Linked DNA regions of Homo sapiens: region 1 is linked to region 2. Evidence: promoter capture Hi-C in 16 types of primary human blood cells and fetal thymus (Javierre and others, 2016). All regions are on one chromosome and are shown on one strand. Each heading gives the region's core, a stretch centred on a gene start or on the middle of the fragment in contact. The rest is flanking DNA. Distances are from core to core; before and after follow the strand shown. Region 1 overlaps PARD3 (par-3 family cell polarity regulator). Region 2 holds the start of NRP1 (neuropilin 1).

Evidence for each region. Contacts are between HindIII fragments. The CHiCAGO score rates a contact against its expected background, and 5 or more counts as called.
Region 1: a contact is called between a fragment that was not itself captured here and the fragment with the promoter of NRP1 in region 2, in 1 of 17 cell types (megakaryocytes). The highest score is 5.6, in megakaryocytes.

Annotation. Positions count from the first base shown.
Region 1 is chr10:34,387,305-34,393,972 of GRCh38, reverse strand. All of the region lies in intron 7 of PARD3 (par-3 family cell polarity regulator), which reads left to right. Among named protein-coding and RNA genes, the nearest start is that of PARD3, 420 kb to the left of the region's middle. The HindIII fragment of the contact is 6,396 bases long and covers 1,653-6,668 here.
Region 2 is chr10:33,331,971-33,339,026 of GRCh38, reverse strand. NRP1 (neuropilin 1) reads left to right here and starts at 4,360. Exons shown (of 17, transcript NM_003873.7): 1 at 4,360-4,717. The coding sequence starts at 4,645. The HindIII fragment of the contact is 8,759 bases long and covers 1-6,763 here.

The DNA.
Region 1 (6,668 bases), core at 3,601-6,100, 1.1 Mb before region 2:
CCAGCCACTCAGAAGGCTGAGGCAGGAGAATTGCTTGAACCCAGGAGGTGGAGGTTGCAGTGAGCTGAGATCGCGCCACTGCACTCTAGCCCAGGTGACAGAGCAAGACTCTGTCTCAAAAAAAAAAAAAAAAAAATTACTACTATTCTTACTTGGGCTTCATAATCTAACTTAAAGTAGATACTCTAAATCTTTTCCCCTATGGAAAACAATTATGGCTAAAACATTTTAAATTAATTAATTAAGTAGAAACTGGGTCTTGCTTTGTTGCCTAGGCTGGTCTCAAACTCTTGGCCTCAAGTGATCCTGCTACCCTGGCCTCCCATAGTGCTGGGATTACAGGTGTGAGCGGCTGTACCTGGCCTAAAGTTTTCTTCTCTGGATCTTTTTTTTTTTTCCTTTTGAGATAGCTTCTCACTCTGTTGCCCGGGCTGGAGAGTAGTGGCTCACTGCAGCTTCAACCTGCCGGGCTTAGGTGATTTTTCCACCTCAGCCTCCCAAGCAGCTGGGACTACAGGCAAGTGCCTCCATGCCCGGCTAATTTTTTATATTTTTTGTGGACATGAGGTTTCCCAATGTTGCCCAGTCTCGTCTCAAACTCTTGGGCTCAAGTGATCTGCCAGCTTTGTCCTCCCAAAGTGCATGGATTACGGGCATGAGCCACCTTGCCTGGCCTGGATCTTTTCTATAATGGACATTTCTCACTTATTTACATCTACCTTTATTCTTAAGTCTGTGGCACTTAAATTTGTTTCACATTACTTTTCCTTGTGAAAATAGTAATTGTATGTTGGTGTTTATATACACTTTTTTTTTTTTTTTAAGATCTAGTATCTACTAGTTAGCATTTTTGGTGCCTTTGATATCTCAGATCAAAGATTCACAAACTTTCTGTAAAGGGTCAGATAATCAGTATTTTAGGCATCATGGCCCAGAAAATCTGCCATTGTAGCATGAAAGCAACCATTGACAAGATATAAACAAAGCTTCATTTACAAAAACATATTGCTGGCTGAATTGACTCATAGGCTGCAGTTGTCAGCCCTTGCCCTAGGGAACCAAACAAATAAAAATGGCTGCCATGATGGTTTTACATTCTAGTATTTTTCATGTCTAAAACTTCTTCACCTCTGTTTTCTATTCATATCTTTGGGGGACAAGAGTGTACAGGATTTTGATTTCCACTTACTGTTTGATAAGAAAGCCTCTTTTGTTGTAACTACATATTAATTCCCAGCAGTGCATGTCCTTGATTCTCAGGAAGAAGGGAAGTTGAAAAAAACCATATAAGCCCATTTACCATACTCTCATTAGTAGTATGTACTCACAGAACAATCCTTCTTAACATCTACTTGTCAATCATAAGACTTAAGGAAAAATCTAAAGTTTCACAGTTAGAAAATCAGGCCCTGTGAAGATGGTGGTGAGGGAAATGAAGGGACTCTGGGTGTGGGTCTGGCTTTCTGCTACTGACTCATGTTGGCAGATATCTTATTTATTAATTTATTCTCAACTTACTTTTTACAGATTTGCCATCATTTGATTTGTCTGATTAACTTTGATTTTTATCCCAAATAATTTTTTTCATCTGTTTATCTTCAATACAATATTCAGAATATCAGGTGAAGTGTCAACATCCTTTGGAAAAAGCTTCTTCAATTTCTGTGTTAAAGTTTATTTTTATGACTTTTCCCCTCTTTATTTATTTGCTTAGTTACATTATTGTCCATAAATTCCATCATGAAGCTGAAAAATGAAATCACATCTCTAAGAGAATATTTTTTATTTTTAAAATTGATTTATTCTTTTTTTTACTTTCTTTCTTTCTTTATATTTTTTGAGACAGGGTCTCACTCTGTCACCCAGGCTGGAGTACGGTGGCAGGATCTCCAGGCTCAAGTGATCCTCCCACCTCAGCCTCCCTAGTAGCTGCGACCACAGGCACACACCACTATGCCTGGCTAATTTTTTGTATTTTTGGTAAAGGTGGGGTCTCCCCATGTTGCCTAGGCTGATCTGGAACTCCTGAGCTCAAGTGATCCACCCACCTCGGCCTCCCGAAGTGCTGGGATTACAGGTGTGAGCCATCACTTCTGGCCACTAGGAGAATATTTTTAATGTTTTGCGTTTTTGAGTTGAAATAAAAGTGACCCTGTTGGAAAATATGTATTTCATAAGTATTATTATTTGCATTCTATTTAAACCTGAATATAGATTAATTAGAAGGTGGTTAAAATAATCTATATGCAGATTGTATTTTGTAATTAATCTATATTCAGAAAATCACTGAAATATAAAAGTTTGTTTTTTACATCCTGCATTCATGTCTTGAATAATTTCCCCCTCAAATATAAACTGATGTTTCTCTGTCTACAAGACTAGTAGTCAAACATCTTTGGATGGTCTTGAGACATACCATACTCATCCATTTAATTCAGCAGAATCTGAGCTTCACTCTCCCCTCAACTAAGATTTACATGATTATAATTATATTGTTTGTCATTTTTATCCCTTCCTGTCTGAACAAAAACTGTATGGAATCAACACCACCGAGCTCTGTGGGAAAAAAGAAAAACCTTCTCCCTTCGCTCTGCTGGAAGCTGGAGGGCGCTAGGCCCCTGTGCAGTAGTGCATAGAATTCTAGCTTTTTTCCTCCTTTCTCTGTATATTGGGCTCAGAGAGTACACTGTGTCTCTATGTGAATATGGACAGTTAGCATTTACCAACATGTATCTGTCTACTTTCTCTTGTTTAAAAGAAGAAAAAAAAAACTAAAAAAAAAATGAGGTTATAGAAGGTCAGCAAAGGGTGGGTTTGAGATGTTTGGGTGGGTTAAGTGGGCATTTTGACAACATGGCTTCTCCTTTGGCATGTTTAATTGTGATATTTGACAGACATCCTTGCAGTTTAAGATGACACTTTTAAAATAAATTCTGTCCTAATGATGACTTGAGCCCTGCCACTCAATGGGGGAGTCAGCAGAACCTGTAGGATCTTATTTGGAATTGACATTCTCTATTGTAATTTTGTTCCTGTATATTTTTAAATTTTCTTTTTGTTTCGCTGGAAAGGAAAGATGATGCTCAGTTTTAAACGTTAAAAGTGTACAAGTTGCTTTGTTACAATAAAACTAAATGTGTACACACACAAAAAAAACTATATTGTTTGTTATACCCTTTTGTTCATCTAAGATATTCTTTATCATTTTTTGCTCTATTATGTATTGAAAACGCAATTTATTTTCCCCAGATTTGGAGTTGGGAATTTTGTATTACCTCTCTGTGTCAGTCAGTGACTGACTTGACCTTATGTTGTCCTCGTTTTATTGGCACGGGGATTGTCAGGACTGGGGAAGGATACCTTGCTCAGTATTTTTTACGTAGTGTGGCCTTGGGCAAGTTAGCCTCACTTAGCCCTACTCCTTACATATGAAGGATAGGAATCATGACTTTTGTATGGTTTAAATAAGAAAATATATGTAAATCATTTAGCAAGGTCCTTGGCAGTGGCAGCTAATAAGAATGATCAAATCATGAGAAGAGATTTTATACTCAATTTATCTTTTGTTATGTGCCTTGAAATTCCCTCCAGTGGTGCTTGGTATTCTGGTGCTTGGTATTCTAGGTAGGTAGTGATTAGTCTACCCAATCAGAGAAAGTGATCATTTTCCTCTTATATCATGAATCTGGGAGAAAATTTACTATTATGTCGTAAAATTGAGAATCCCAATACACATTTGTTTAGTTAATTGGGTACATATGCTAATGAAGAATTACAGTCAATTTGAGCTTCACAAACTAGCTGAGAATAAATATGCTCTTGAACTTTTGAGTACTCAATTTTAATTTAATAACTTTTGAAAAAAACGCAATTTAACTTTATTTGCTGAATCAATAGTCTTTTGTCTGAAAGTTTTCAATTGTGCATTCTCAGCCGCAGACTCATTTGTTATAATAAAGAACTATAACATACGCATTGGTTTTAGAGAGACAAGTTGCAGTTTACACTTACATGAATCATGTCTCTTTATATATAGCAATATGACATCTGTGATTTCTGCTGTAATCTAAAGGAATTTTCCATTTTTATTTACCTTTTTGGCCTGATTTATCTCATTCATTGAAGTTTTTCTAAAAAAAAAATTAAGATTTAAAGTTTTAACTTGGCATTCCTTTAAACTTTCTCCTTTTGGTGTCCATGCTTTCAGTGGCAGTACTTTCTGGGCTCATGTAGGTAGTTGCTGGCCCCCCATGGGCTGTACTCAGGGAGCTGAGCGGTTCTTGTTGATGAGACCCTATTCTGCCCACTCATATTCTGCCTTCCCTACCGTTGTGATGTTTATACTGTGTCAACCTTTATTAAGATGAATTATAATCATTTCCATACAGCTGGGTGGCAGTTGTGGTAGTTTACATTATCAACGCAAAACTCAGACTTACTCAGCCAATTTGGATGTCAATAAAACATTTGTTACTTATTTTCAGTTTTATCATTGGTTGTAATTTATACTTAGAATTGAAAATGTTAACATGTGTGACTGCGTTTGTTTTAATTAAGTGTATAATTAGGCTAATGAACCTTGTAAAAATGTAGTGGTGCAATCCTTAATATAATCTAAGTAGTTAAATTCTAATTATGCATCCAAAATCATGTACAAAGAAGCAGCATTTCAATGGCTCGCTTTGTGCTACTGTACCCTAGCTTGTCTTTTTTTTTTTTTTTTTTTTTTTTTTAAGAAACATTGTTCAAAAACGAAGTCTTGAAAGAAATATGCATGTAACATACTTTTGTATTAGGAAAATTATTCAGAAGTGATATTTGTATGCAGCGGATCTAGTGTTTTCTTCTTTTCAAATTTTGAAGAAAATATAGGAGACTAGAAGAGGAATAGATTTGGGGATGTTTCAGCTCCATCAGGAAAAATCCATTTGCTTGAAAAGCATAAAGCCAAGTAGGGTTTATCTTAGATTCATAAGGAAGGTAGAGGAGGTTCTGTTTCACATAACCCTAAACCCTATAATCATTTCTTCTTAAATCTGCGCCACCCCACTAATAAATGCCCAACTCTTTTCTCTTATGTCTTTTGTCCTAGCATAACAAATCTGGGGTTGTTCTGCTCTTGGAACCATTCCCCAAACAGAGCTTACTCCAATGCCTCCTTTCCTGACACCTACCTCTTTTATTTTTTGCAAAGTGGTTTCTTCTTAGGATGGAACATGGTTGACCCAATAAGGAATTCTGGTATTAGCTGCCAAGAAGGAACACTGTTCTCTCTACCAGCACACTGACGTGCCAAAATGTTTAGAACTTCATTTGCTTTGATTACTTTCTCTAATAAAACTGTTGCAGCAGCCATACCATAGGCAGTTGGTTCTTTATTACTTTAGAACAAATTCTGATTTCTAGTTGAGTTTGCAAAATATATCCCTAAAATTTGTTTTTAATTATATTGTTTGATACAGCTTTAAGTTGCAAATGAGGGCTATGGAAATGTATCTGCTCGCGAGCACACATTTTTCAGGAAAGTGTCTCTTCTTACTACTTTTGATTTCCTTCGGAGGTTCTTTTCATTCTCAGTCTAGCTGTTATCAGTTGGATTTTCTTGTGACTTTTTTTTCTTTTGATAGTTCATTCCCATTCCTTTGCAATCATTTTCACCTAGTGGAGTAAATGAGATAATTTTGCAGATTGTACCACTTTCCTTTTAAATTAATCCATTCTTTTTGAGAGAATGATTCTAATAGTGTGGTTAAGTACTTAGAAATCAGCAGGCTACTAACTTCACCTTAATTCAGTCTGTTCCCTTGATTCCCTCATCTCTTGCTGTGTCAGTCAGGGTGATGTTCTTTCTCTTCTGCAGTCTTCTTCCACCCTCTATCTCCCAGCCCCCCATCAGGTCTCTTGTACTGAGTAAAAGGAATCTGAGATCTGAGATTTTCATGACTTATAACAATGTTGGTTGCTAAAGCCTCAGTTAATAAATTTCCATTATAGTTTCTATACGTGTGTGGTGTATTTATGATTTGTAGAATTTCTACTGTATGTTAGGATTGCTAATGCATTTGGCCATTGATGAGGACTTATTTAGAAAGACAACCATTCAAGAAATGGAACATTACATGCTTTTCTACTTTGGATTATTAGTCTAGAATGATTACCAGAAAAAAAACACATAGGTTTAAAACTGAAAAATTATGAGATGAATATAAATCTGTTCATCTACTTATCTGAAAAAAATTATTGATGTTACTTCTAGAATTAAAGAGCAGATTTCAGCTGGCACAGTGGCTCAAGCCTGTAATCCCAATACTTTTGGGAGGCCAAGTCCAGGAGTTCAAGACCAGCCTGGGCAACATAGTAAGAACCCAAGTCTACAAAACAAACAAACAAACTAGCCAGGGGTCGTGGCACACACCTCTAATCCCAGCTACTCAGGAGGCTGAGGCAGGAGGATTGCTTGAGCCCCGGGGTTTGAGCTTGCAGGGAGCTGTGATTGAGCCCAGTATACCTCCAGCCTGGGTGACAGAGCAAGATTCTGTCTCAAAAAAAATTAAAGTGAAAGGATTTATAAGTTACACTGTTTTAAGTTGTCATAAATACTGAAAGGATGTATCCAAGATAGTTTCATAAATTTAAATAAATGATCGGTGCTAATTAACTGCTAAGTA
Region 2 (7,056 bases), core at 3,111-5,610:
CTTTAGATTCTACTATGGTTACTTCAAAACTGGTCTCTTCATTTCTTCCCTTGCTCCGCCCATAACCCATTCTACAGGCAACTGCCAGAGTCATCTAATAAAAATGCAAAATGAAATTACATCCTTTGAGAATAAATTCAACAATTCTTAACTGTTGTGGCCATTGTTTGATATTTTTAAAAATTATTTTTTATTGATTTAAAATTTTAGCTATTTACATAAAACTATGATTAAATATTAAGAGGCAGCCAGTTTTCTATTCTGGTTGTTCAAATTATATTTTAAAGATTGCCCTATTTAAAACAGTCCTTTCAAATTTTGAATATGTTCTCTCTAATGATGTCTCTATTGATTTGAAGAGTGTTTCTGTTGGTTATAATTATTTTAATTTTCCCAATTTAAAAGTAATCCAATGAAGGCAAAATCATTTAATATTATTATCTCAGAAAAATAATACAGTTTTCAAATATGGCTGTAACCTCTACTCTAGCAAATGTTTTGAATCTAGTGTGATTCAAAATTTAGCATTATCTTTCTTCATCTTGTTGGTTAGTAAATATACTGTATCACAAAAACTTCACATTGTAACTTTGTGTTAACGTTTTAGTTGGTAGTCGTTTCTCCAATATTTGAGGAATTTTCAAGGTAACTTTTAAAAGGCTAAAAAGGTAGAATCAGAAAGTGAAGATTCATTTGTTTATTTCCTTCCTTCTCTGTCAGTACAAATCAAGGAGATGGCCAAAAATGAGGCCCAGATGACACCTCTTGCATGACACAGTCACTTGACAGAATAACCACTAATAGGCTTATTTTAAACATTAGTTAATTAAAATTCCAACTTTTAATGTTTTTCCAGTTTCACTTCATCTATTCATACATCTCAAAACTAGGTTAGCTCCTACTAAAAATATGGAGCTTGTATTGCTTTTCTGAAATTTATGGGTTTGATGTTTTCAAAAAACTTGACTAGATATGATGCAGTTTGAACTACCAACCCGAATCTCCATATTGCATGAATCTGAAGTACTTTGAGGGAGTTAGTGGCTCAAATGGCCTTCTGGGAGCAATCGATTTCATCTATTTCTGACAAAGGGATGAGAGCTTGATGAAAGGAATCGAGCAGTTACCATCCAGTCTACTCTTACTGATGGGCCACGGTTCCAATCCGACTCAGGGAGCCCCAGCTGAAGGCCTTATTTCTGCAGCACCTCCTAAGTGGGAGTCCAGGAAACTGGGCTTTGCCCACTCACAGCCTCTGCAGGGCGTTCTGGGGGTGCGGTAGAGGACTCTTCCCTTCCCTGGAACTGGGTCCTACCAAGTCCAGGGATTTGTTCTATCAGGAAGAATAATGTGTTCAAGAGACCAAAATAAAATCAACCCGGGAACACTGCCAAATTCTTCCTCTGCCTATCACTTATTCTCGTATAGAGCCGGCCTGTCTCCACGCTGGGGAATTGCAAAAATCTAAAACTGACCCCTCTCACCACTTAGTGGAATCCAACAGCAAAGGAAAAAGGTTGTTAGCAAGGACAATTTGCTCTGTACCAACCCACTGGCCGGCAATTCTCAATCAGTGCGGTAGGGCTCCATTACCCAGCACTGTGAGTGGAAACTAAGGAGTCTAGAAAAACCTTAGATCAGCTAAGAGCAGAGAAATCAGAGGCAGAACTTAAATATGACATTTCCTTCTGAGTCCATAGTGCATCCCTTATTCACTGGTTGGAGAAAGCTGGCAAAAGCGCTCAGCTGGAGGCAGGCGTTTTCTGTGCGTTGAGGCGCCGGAGGAGCCATTCCCTTCGGGAAAGACAAGGTCGGGGTGGGGGCAGTCGCTCCGGAGTGCACGATCCGGTGGCTTTATTTGCTGGCCTGGCGGGTCTAGGCTGGAAAATGCACACTCAGCAGGGAAAGGGGAAGAGAGATTGGCGGCAGTTTTCTAAAAACAACACAGCTCAAGTCTCCCTCGTGTGCCCCCTCGCTCACCCCGCCGAGGCTCAGAGCTATCCAAACGGGCGCTCCGGAGCGAGCGCGGAGGTCGGGTCCCCCCAGGACGCAGGCGGGCCTCCGAGACTCCAGGCCGCCCCGGCCGCCGCTCCCTCCCGGTTCCCCTTCCCTGTCAACCTGCCAGGTCCTGAGAGGCGCCTCTCCCTCCGAGCCTGGACCGAGGTCGCTCCGGGTCACCCTAAATCTGATGATGCCGCTCGCCCGGCGCAGCCGGGGGCTGGGACTGGCGGGGCTGCACCTGGGGAGGCGGCGACCGCGCGCGGGTAGTAGCCGAGAGCCCAGGCTGCCTCTGCGGCGCTCACTCCCCCGGGGTCTGCGCTGGGCGCGGTCGGCGCCCCCGCCTCGCCTCCCGCCTGCCCGCCTGCCCGGGCGCAGGGCTGCCCATGGCTTCGACAGTGCTCCTTCCGCTCAACTTAGGCATTTAACTCCCAGCCCTTCGGTGCCCACTTCCCACCCCGCGCCTCCCAGGGGTCCGACAGCTGAGAAGAAGGAGGAAACTGGCAGAGGAAAGAGGCGCTCGGGGGGGCCGAGTTTCCAACTTGGCGACTGGGAATCCCGAGGCGCGTGGGGAGGAGAAGACAGGCTTGACCCGGGGCAAGAGAGTGGCGAGTGCGGGCTCCGTGGGTGCACCTCCCACTGGCCCGGGAACGGCCTGCACCCCGAGGGGCGCACGTCACTGCTCCCAGCCCGAGTCGCGAGCGCGCAGTCCTGGCCTGGGGCCCGCGCGCCTTGGGCTTTCTCCCTGCCCGCCCCTTTTTCTTCCGCCAAAACCTTTGACCAGAGTCTCCTTGCCAGCATTCCTACCTCCCTTTGGCCAGCTATTTGTGCCAGGTAGGAATCAGGCTGTACTTTGGCTGTGTGTGTAGACGCCAATCCCCAGGAGGCGTGTGACCTTTTCACCTTACCCACAAACTCCCTGGGAGGTGCCCCGTGGGCACTGACCCTTCTCCGGGGCCTGATCGGTGACCGCAACCTGTTTCTTCCCAGAAATGTCCTTGCTTTTCGCATCTACAAACGCTTCCTGCAGCACTTCTCGGAAAACCCTCGGGGACGGGCCTGGGGGGCATCCAGCGGGCTGGGGGCACGAGCCGCTGTGGGAAGTGGGGGTGGCAGGAGCTCCAGGGCCGGCGTGCACGTTGTCTGTGGCCGGGAGCGGACACTGAGAGGGCGCAGCGAAGAGCACCCCTCCCCCGCCACTCTTTCCCTCCCTCGGGATGCACAGAGAAACGGGGGCCGCCCGACCCCTGATTTCCACACCCCTCCCTAGCACCTGGGCTCCCAGACAAGGTTGGGCGGGGTCGGGCGGCGATTGCCCCCCTGCTTGGAAGGCGCAGCACCTCCCACCCTCCGGTGTTCCCTCTGCCCCAGAGGAACGGGCACCAAATCTCGGGAAACAATGAAGCCTCCGCGGCGCGCAGAGGGCACCCAGCCGCGCGCCCTGATGCGGGCCAGGGAGGCCGCGTGGGGCTGCAGCCCGGCCTCGCCCGCCCAGGCGGTCTGTCTTCGCTTCACACCACAGCGACACTGCTGCCCCTCGCCCGGCTTCGCGGTGCGGCTCCCACTCCAGCCCGGCTTTCCCCTCCTCGCCCTCCAGCTCTGGGCAGGGGCGTCCAGGGGTGCCCCGCTGCTCCCCGCCACAGGTCTCAGGATGGCGCGATGAGGAGTGGCAGGGGGTGACCCTGCGTTCCTCGCCGCCGAGGGCGCGGGCCCCGGGATTTGAAGTTGCGAGAAGCAGCCGCCACCTCCCGGGCGCTCCGCACTGCGCGGCGGCGGGATCTGCGCCTGCAGGAGCTGCCCAGCTCTCCCTCTAGGGGTGCAGAGCGAGCACGCGAGGTGGGCTGGCCAGACCCTGCGGCTGGCACTGACCTCCGCGCCCCTTCCTCCGACGCCCGCACCCACGCGACCGGGGCGCAGACTCCCAGCGCCTTCCTTCCCGCGGAGATCCCTGCAGGGTCTCTGGGAAAGACAGACAGACGGACGGGGAGAGCACTCGGAGGGAAAGTTGTTCCTCCCAGTCTCCTGTCAGGCAATTACAGGCGAGCCCAAGCGGGGAGAGGGGCGGGAGGAAGCGAGGGAAGGGCTCCGGAGTGGGGGGAGGCCGCAGGAGGGGAGGCGGGGGTGCAGTTGGTGAAACTCCTCTGTCTCCCGCTCATCTTTTCATTGCTCGTTCCCCTCCTTCCCGCAGACACCCGGACCTCCCCTGGGCGCCAGCTCCGCGGCTCCAACGGGTCCAGAAACAAGCCGGATTTTTTTTTTTTCTTCCTGGAAATTGGCTTTGGTGTGTGTTGCCCTACCTCCCTCCTCCCCCTCCCACCCACAGCCCCCCCCCGGCCTTTTTTTTTTTTTTTTTTTTTTTTGAGACATGGCCCGGGCAGTGGCTCCTGGAAGAGGAACAAGTGTGGGAAAAGGGAGAGGAAGCCGGAGCTAAATGACAGGATGCAGGCGACTTGAGACACAAAAAGAGAAGCGTTCCTCTCGGATCCAGGCATTGCCTCGCTGCTTTCTTTTCTCCAAGACGGGCTGAGGATTGTACAGCTCTAGGCGGAGTTGGGGCTCTTCGGATCGCTTAGATTCTCCTCTTTGCTGCATTTCCCCCCACGTCCTCGTTCTCCCGCGTCTGCCTGCGGACCCGGAGAAGGGAGAATGGAGAGGGGGCTGCCGCTCCTCTGCGCCGTGCTCGCCCTCGTCCTCGCCCCGGCCGGCGCTTTTCGCAACGGTAAGTGACAGGCAGAGGCGCGGGTGACAGCGGCGCCCCGGCTCCCAGCTGCCCGCCCCGGACCGGGGCTCAGGCGGGGCTTCCCGGGATCAGCCGGGAACAACCGACTCCCGGGCGAAGGAAACTTTTATCTGGGAGGAGAGAAGAAGAAATGAGATCAGGCGGTTTAGAGCAGGAGGATTTCAGGTCTTTGGGCTCCCTCCTGACGTTGATCCTTGGGCTGTGGGGCTTTTCCTTACCTCTGTTACAAGACAGAGCTGTCTACCTTCCCAGATCAGCATGCCAATTATCTTAATAATGTTTCCTCCCAAAGGCAATTAGAAGAGACTCCCTTTCAAAAATCTGATGGCTGTTGAAAGTTAATGAACACTTTACCAGGAGATCTTACTTCCTGGTTCCTTTGCTGCTCCCCTAAGCCGTTTCCTCTGGTGGGTGACGGCCAGAGATATCGGTTTGTGGGTTGATGAAACTCCCTCCCCCGCCTTTGTACACCTTCCGTAATCTGTCTGGAGTATGACTGAAAGTTACATAGTATCAATACAGGAATCTGACATATACAGTGTAAGGCACCAGGATATCTGAAAATCCCTAAGCTAGTTGCAGCTTCCACTTAGCTTTTAAAATCACTCACTGTTAAGTAAATGAAAAACTATACTGGGGTCTAAACAGTACCATGTAACCTAAATAATGTGTTTTAAAATGGGATCTGGTTGTAGGCATGTTTGACTTCACACTGTAAAGTAAGTGCAGGCAAGGGTATGCAATTATCTTTACAGTAAGTCGTCAGCAATTGTTATTAACTAATGATCAAATATTTACTTTTGTCTGGCTTAGATTTCAATCACAGTAATTAGAAGAAAAGAACATCCACTACTTACTGTGGTATATTGTTTTAATAAGAGACCGCAAGTGGAGGGCCTCATACCAACAGGAATTTAAATCACATCTTTATGATGGAAGTTAATCTCTCTAATATGCTTTTTCAAGGTTTTGTGATTTTAGCAATGGATTTCCCTCAGCAGCTACCAAGCAGTATTTTAAGAGATGCTTAAAGCAAAACACATGCAAAAAAAAAAATTATGAACATGGAATTCAGCTTATTAATGAGCCCAAGTTGATGGCATTTTTCTATAATCTGGCAGGAAAGCAAGACACAAAAAATTATGAATGTAGAATTCAATTTATTAATGAACCTGAGCTGGTAGCATCTTTCTATACTCTGGCAGGGAATGAAATAGCATTCTCGTCCAACTGAAAGAGCTCAAATGGTTGGACTAGAAATTATAGTAACCCTGTCCTCCACAACTCTTGAGACTAAATCCATAGTGGGGGTGTTCACAAGATAGATTTGAAGCTCAATGCAAAGAGCTATCAGACTTTAGGTTGTGAACTACACAAATATATATGCAGTACACACACACACACACACACTTCTTAGTTTTCTTAGCAGAAATCTGGGGAATGCTGAAAATCTGGCTTTAGTTGTTGAGCTTTACCAGCAAAAGCCATGTCGCTATGCTTGAAGTGACCAGAGCCAGAAAATGCCTCTGTAACTCAGCAGACCTCTCAAAGCCATGTCCACCTCCTCTGAGTAACCAGTGTCTGCTAAATTAATTCATTAACCTTATTTAGGACTAATGGTCCAGAGTCATTAGAAACTGCTCTTTCTTAATCAACTGCTAGAGAGATTGAACAGAGCCAGGGAGTCTAGCAGTCCACATTATCTTATTACACTGTCACTTTCTCAGAAGTCACAGATTAAAGAGCTCTGGTGTGGTACCAAGTCCACCTAAATGTCTTCTGAAGTGACTCTGTCGAGTGACTAGAACCAGTGCTGTTTTATTTCACTCCTGTAACAGATGCCAGACACTACCATGATGTTTGTCCAGAGCTAGAGGAAACTTAATGAGACGAGGTCACTTTCCAAGTTTTCTGCACATTCAAAATAATGCAAGAGTCTCAGCAGAATCACATAACAGAGTCCAACATGATCATTAGCTGAGATTTTGAACTCCAGTTGCAACATCATTTCTTCCTGGCAAAGCTTACACTTTTACAAGCCAGTGCAAAGGAAACCAGCATAAGACTACCCCCAGTCTAAGGAACAAAGTCAGAAGCACCTAGCGATTGAGAAAAACAATATAACTTATATTGTCTTCTTTTTTTAATTTATGGGAAATGATTTCTGTAATGCATGTAGCTTTATGCATTTTTGATGTGCACTTCATCTTTCATTTCCATTTGACCTGGTTTTCCTGTAATAAAATTCTGTAGATTTATAAATTCATGCTGAGAGCAAAGAATGCCATTCTCTTTCCACAGGGAATCTATTAGATGCA